Linked DNA regions of Homo sapiens: region 2 is linked to region 1. Evidence: promoter capture Hi-C in human tissues and cell types (Jung and others, 2019). All regions are on one chromosome and are shown on one strand. The core of a region is centred on a gene start or on the middle of the fragment in contact, and the rest is flanking DNA. Distances in the headings are between cores, read along the strand shown. Region 1 holds the start of CBR3 (carbonyl reductase 3). Region 2 holds the start of LOC124905016 (a long non-coding RNA gene).

Region 1 (2,700 bases), core at 1-2,500:
AGTAACTTTTTTTTTTTTTTCATACGGAGTCTCGCTCTGTCTCCCAGTCTGGAGTGCAGTGGCGCGATCTCGGCTCACTGCCTCCCAGGTTCAAGCGTTTCTCCTGCCTCGGCCTCCCAAAGTGCTGGCATTACAGGCGTGAGCCACTGCGCCCTCCTGTAATTTTCTTCAGTAGTAGTTAGAATAAGCAATCTCTTGATCCCCGCCCCTCTCCTTAAGGAAGATGCTTTTAAGACCACACGCACGTATTTTATAACAAACATAAGCTCCCCGGGCGGGGGTGGGGGAACGAGAAGGCTCGCTTCCTTTTTGCCAGAGCCTATCAAAGCTCTGCATTACACAAATTGTCAAGTCCACCAAGGGCAAGCGCGCGCTAATCCTGTTTTAGCGATTCATTTCCTTTCCCGAGCAAATGCCTCCGGGCATCTATGAATGCGCCCTTTCAAGGAAAGCGAAAGCCCAAAGCGAGCGGAGACCGTTTCTTTGCAGAGAAAATGTTTCTCGCGTTGGAAGGAAAGCTGATGAACTCTAGCAGGGCGTTGCCCCCTCCCAGGAGGCCAGTTTTCCTGCACACAACAGCGGCTGACAGTTCGGGGAGGGCCCCGGGCCGCGCACAGGCCCTCACAGGCCGGCGGGCGGGGCGCGCTGTTTGTCGCCCGGGCCCGCCTGGGGCTCAGCGAATCACGGAAAGCGAAAACCGCCTCGCGGGAGGCGTGGGCTGAGCGCATCCCTAGGGGTCGGCGCCACCCTCCTCGGTCACTCAAGTGGACGGGTGGGGAGCCTGCGGCTGGCCACCTCCGCACCCTCGGAGCGCTCCAGGGGGCCCCAACCCAAGCCCTGCACCTACTCTTGAAGGCGACGGCCGCGTTGTTGACCAGTACGTTGAGCCCCCCGTACTCCTTGCGCAGGAAGTCGCGCAGGGCGCGGATGCTCTGCAAGTCGTCGATGTCCAGTTGGTGGAAGCGCGGGCTCAGGCCCTCCGCCTGCAGCTGCTGCACGGCCGCCTGGCCCCGCGCCACGTCCCGCGCGGTGAGCACCACATCCCCAGAGAACTGTCGGCACAGTTCGCGCGCGATGGCCAAGCCGATGCCCCTGTTGGCCCCGGTCACCAGCGCCACGCGGCTGCAGGACGACATGGCTGAGCGGGGAGCGCGGGGCACCTGCGTGGAGGGCGGACCGGGCTTCGGACCACCTGGGGCGCGCCCCGAGGAGCCCAGCTAGTGTCAATGCCGCCGCGCAGACTAAGTTCTGGGATCCAGTGCTGCGAGTCTTAAAGAAAAAGGCCCCGGCTCCGGTCCCTCCCCTCCGAGGAGGGGCCGTCTGTGCCCTCTGTTCCAACTCCCGGGCCCGCCCCCTGCCCACGCTGCGCCCTTCAGGATCCGGGCTCTGAGCCGCGGGGTGATCTGCGAGGTGTCCGAAGCCAAATCGGACCTTGATGGGTCAGTCGGGGGCTCCAGATTCTTGGCAACTGGACTGAAGAAATTATTTTGGGAAAACCCCAAAGTGAGAAAAACAAGTGCTGAGTAATTTTCTTGGGTGTGCGCCCATCATGCACTGCAAAATGCGAATGTTTGCTTTTTCCTAAGATGCAGTGACTTACTTAGACACAGTAACTGCTTCTCTGGACATAGGTTGCCTTGCTTGCTTAAAAGGAACTCAAGAGAGGGAACTAGATGCCCTGTGAGCGCACTTAGCAGGTGTGGGCAGGCGACATCGCTCTGGGATTCCCAGTGAATGTGCCCCCAAGTGGGAGGGAATGTTTTTATTTAATCCTACCTAACTCCTACGGGTGCTAAAAGTGTCTGCATTTAGGTTTGTCCAGGGAGGATATAGATCTATAAAGATCTGGATTGATCATATGTTCTCACAGATCTGTGTACCGGCAAAGAAAGTTAAACCAAATTCCCAAAGGTGTGTCAAGCTGTGGGCACAAAATTAGAGTCTCATCCATCGTCTTCAGTGTAAACTGAGTTGTTTGATCAGTGACTTTGAGATTTGGGGAGAACCATGACATCATCACGACTCAGCCTTTTCCATGCAGAGCTGGCTAACCCGCCTGTGTCTCTGTTACTCTGACTCTACCTTCTCTCTCAAGTCCTTACTTGAGGTTCCGGAGGTGGGCCCCTGCTGTGATCTCCTACTGTGCCTCCCCCAGTATTTCCTTCTTTTTTCTCCTAAAGATCATTTGGTCCGGGCGCGGTGGCTCACACCTGTAATCCCAGCACTTTGGGAGGCTGAGGCGGGTGGATTACGCGGTCAGGAGTTCAAGACCAGCCTGACCAACATGGTGAAACCCCCATCTCTACTAAAAATACAAAAATTACCTGGGTGTGGTGGCACGTGCCTGTAATCCCAGCTACTTAGGAGGCTGAGGCAGGAGAACTGCTTGAACCCGGGAGGCGGAGGTTGCAGTAAACCGAGATTGCACCACTGCACTCCAACCTGTGCAACAGAGTGAGACTTTTCAAAAAAAAAAAAAAAGATCATTTGGAACCTTGTTTTAAGGATATGGGGCTATTTAGGCTTTCTATTTCTGTTTTTTTTTTTTTTTTTTTTTTTTTTAATAGGGTCTTCTCTGTCGCCCAGGCTGGAGTGCAGTGCTGCAGTCGTGGCTCACTGTAGCGTCAGTCTCCTGAGCTCAGGTGATCCTCCCCTTTAGCCTCCCTAGTAGCTGGGACTACAAGTGTGCCACAGTCATGC
Region 2 (2,700 bases), core at 24-2,523, 49 kb before region 1:
ACTTAGACTCAAAGCCACTCTGTCTTGCCACTAACGCCTACTTTCCCTGTCTTCCCATAGAGGAAGTTTAGGTAGCTGTGATGCTGTACAGTACCTTCCGCATTTCTAGACTTATATTTTATTCTTTTGCGATGGCACAGCACTTCCTCAGCCTTCCCTGACATTGTTACATGTTGCCCTCAACCCTGGAGTGTGGGCTTCACAAGGCGCTGGCCGACCTGAAATACTCGTCATACACCTGGGAAGCTGCAAGCAAGCCTTTGAACTCCAGTTTCTTCATCAGTAGAAGAGGCTGAGTGGCACTGAGTTTGGAGGATCCTAGGTTTGAAAAACAATGGTGGCAAGCATATAATAGGGGCTCACAAAGGAAACTGTTCTATTTGGGGGGTCTAAGAGCTAACAGTCTCAGAAGTGATGAAAAATGGCAGGAGGAGGTGAAGGCAGCTGAGTTCTGCAATAAACCACAGGAAAAGAAGGTAAGGATGTGGGGCCGACTCTCCCTTCAGAACACAGTCTACACCTTGAAATGTACATGATGCAGAGAACACTGCCATTCTTATGCATTTATCATCACAAACCAGAAAATCAAATAAAAGTAATCATACCATTAAAAATATAAAATAACATAGTATCGGGAGATGTTATTTTTCTAATTTTTAAACATATTTTATTGCACATACAAATGATCTGTTTAACAAACACCAAAGCTTATAGGGAAACCTGCTTGTTAAAGTCAGAGACAGAAGAAAAGGAAGAACGCCTTCGGGACACAGTCTTACTACAAATCCTCAACAGGTTTCAGTCCCCAAAGTTCTACTGGTAGAACTCAATATTCTTCAAAAGTCACACCCAGAACAGAACTGGCATGCTCTAATGAAATGAGATGTTAACTCCTCCTCCCCAGCGCCTTCTTCTAGAGAACTCCCAGAGGCCTTCCTGACCCTCAGCGCTACAGCAGATTGGGCGCAGAGTGGCTGTTCAGAGCTCCAGGCTCAACCTCCCACAGCGATCCTGTTCCCCGCAGCCCGCAGAGCCTCCCACACCTGAAGCGCACGTGGGCTGCCTGCTGGGTCAGCACTTGCTGCGTATGCCGGGCAGCCTGAGCACCAAGGAGGGGAACGCAGAGCCTCAGGCCGGCAGCGAAGCACACAGCTCTCCACGATAGCCTGTTCTGAATCCAGTCTGCGGTCTTCCTCCTAGTGCTTTTTCCTCCTGCTTCCCTGTCCCTGGAATAAGCTACCTGCACGGAAGCAGGAGACCTGTGAAAGAACCATCTCTCGGCAGCTGGGTGGGAAGGGGCCGCAACAGTGTATACAGGGGCTGGGCACGGTGGCTCATGCCTATGATCCCAGCACTCTGGGAGGCCGAGGTGGGTGGATCACTTGAGGTCAGGAGTTCAAGACCAGCCTGGGCAACATAGCGAAACCCGCCTCTACTAAAAATACAAAAATTAGGCCGGGCGTGGTGGCTCACACCTGTAATCGCAGCACTCTGGGAGACCAAGGCAGGTGGATCACCTGAGGTCGGGAGTTTGAGACCAGCCTGACCAACATGGTGAAATCCCATCTCTAATAAAAATACAAAAATTAGCCAGGTGTGGTGGTGCACATCTGTAATCCCAGCTACTTGGGAGGCTGAGGCAGGAGAATCACTTGAACCTGGGAGCCGGAGGTTGCAGTGAGCCAAGATCACGCCACTGCACTCCAGCCTGGACGACAGAGTATGACTCTGTCTCAAAAAAAGATAAAATAGAAAAAGCAAAAAACAAAAATTAACCAGGCGTGGTGGCACGCACCTGTAGTCCCAGCTACTCGGGAAGCTGAGGCAGGAGAATAGCTTGAACCTGGGAGGCAGAGGTTGCAGTGAGTTGAGACTGCACCACTGCACTCCAGCCTGGGCGACAGAGTGAGACGCCATCTAAAAAAAAAAAAAAAAGAAACCATGTACACAGGAAATGTGAAGATGGCATGAAAGCTGGGCTATCTCCAGATACATTCAAGCCCAAAGCTGACTCCTCTCTCCAAAAGGCAGCAGCTATACAACTCTGTCCCGGGCACTCAGAACAAAGAGGCAGAGTGCTGTGGCTGGCAGAGGCGGCAGGTGCTGGAAGCACACGACCCCCTCCAAAACACAACAAAGGTTCCGTAGTTGGAATGGTGCCTCCGCCATGGGGAGACAGAAGGTCCTCTGCAACTGCTCTGTAGGCGTCCTGCTCCCAGCCAGAAACCACTCCAACAGCTGCAAGACACTGCATCTTTTAAGGATGCACAAAATACCTTTACTGTCAACAGACAAGTACGTCCACGTCAGCCTGCAGAAGAAACAGGCTCTGGCTCTCGGGTTGAGGATGGTCCAGGGTTGTGAGCTCAGCTAGGACATGTGTGGCTGTAAAGAACAGACCATCAAGCCATACAGGTTTAAATGAAGCAATGTATTGCCTCACAAAACCAAAGGTCTACAGCAGTGGTTCTCAACTGGGGAAATTTTGCCCCCAGGGGACATTTGGCAATGTGTGGAAACATTTCTGGCTGTTACAACTTTGGGTGGAGGAGGGGGTGATACTGGCATCTACTGGACAGAAGTCAGGGAGGCCAGGATGGGAATAAGCATCCTACAGAGAGCTGGGCACAGTGGCGCGCACCTGTGATCCCAGCTACTCAGGAGGCGAAGGCGAGAGGATTGTGTGAGGCTGTAGTGAGC

The links. The method cuts DNA at HindIII sites, captures the fragments that hold promoters and counts their contacts. A contact is called where the count stands out against the background at its distance.
Region 2: a fragment that was not itself captured here is called in contact with the fragment with the promoter of CBR3 in region 1 in 1 of the 25 tissues and cell types used here (spleen).

The regions. Positions count from the first base shown.
Region 1 is chr21:36,133,629-36,136,328 of GRCh38, reverse strand. It overlaps CBR3 (carbonyl reductase 3), which reads right to left and starts at 1,250. Exons shown (of 3, transcript NM_001236.4): 1 at 848-1,250. The coding sequence starts at 1,136. All of the region lies in intron 2 of CBR3-AS1 (CBR3 antisense RNA 1), which reads left to right. RefSeq lists enhancers at 276-445, 281-1,087, 1,088-1,895 and silencers at 596-765, 1,196-1,265. The HindIII fragment of the contact is 7,591 bases long and covers 1-2,700 here.
Region 2 is chr21:36,183,102-36,185,801 of GRCh38, reverse strand. All of the region lies in intron 2 of DOP1B (DOP1 leucine zipper like protein B), which reads right to left. LOC124905016 (a long non-coding RNA gene) reads right to left here and starts at 1,838. Exons shown (of 2, transcript XR_007067855.1): 1 at 1,796-1,838; 2 at 645-1,240. The HindIII fragment of the contact is 5,235 bases long and covers 1-2,700 here.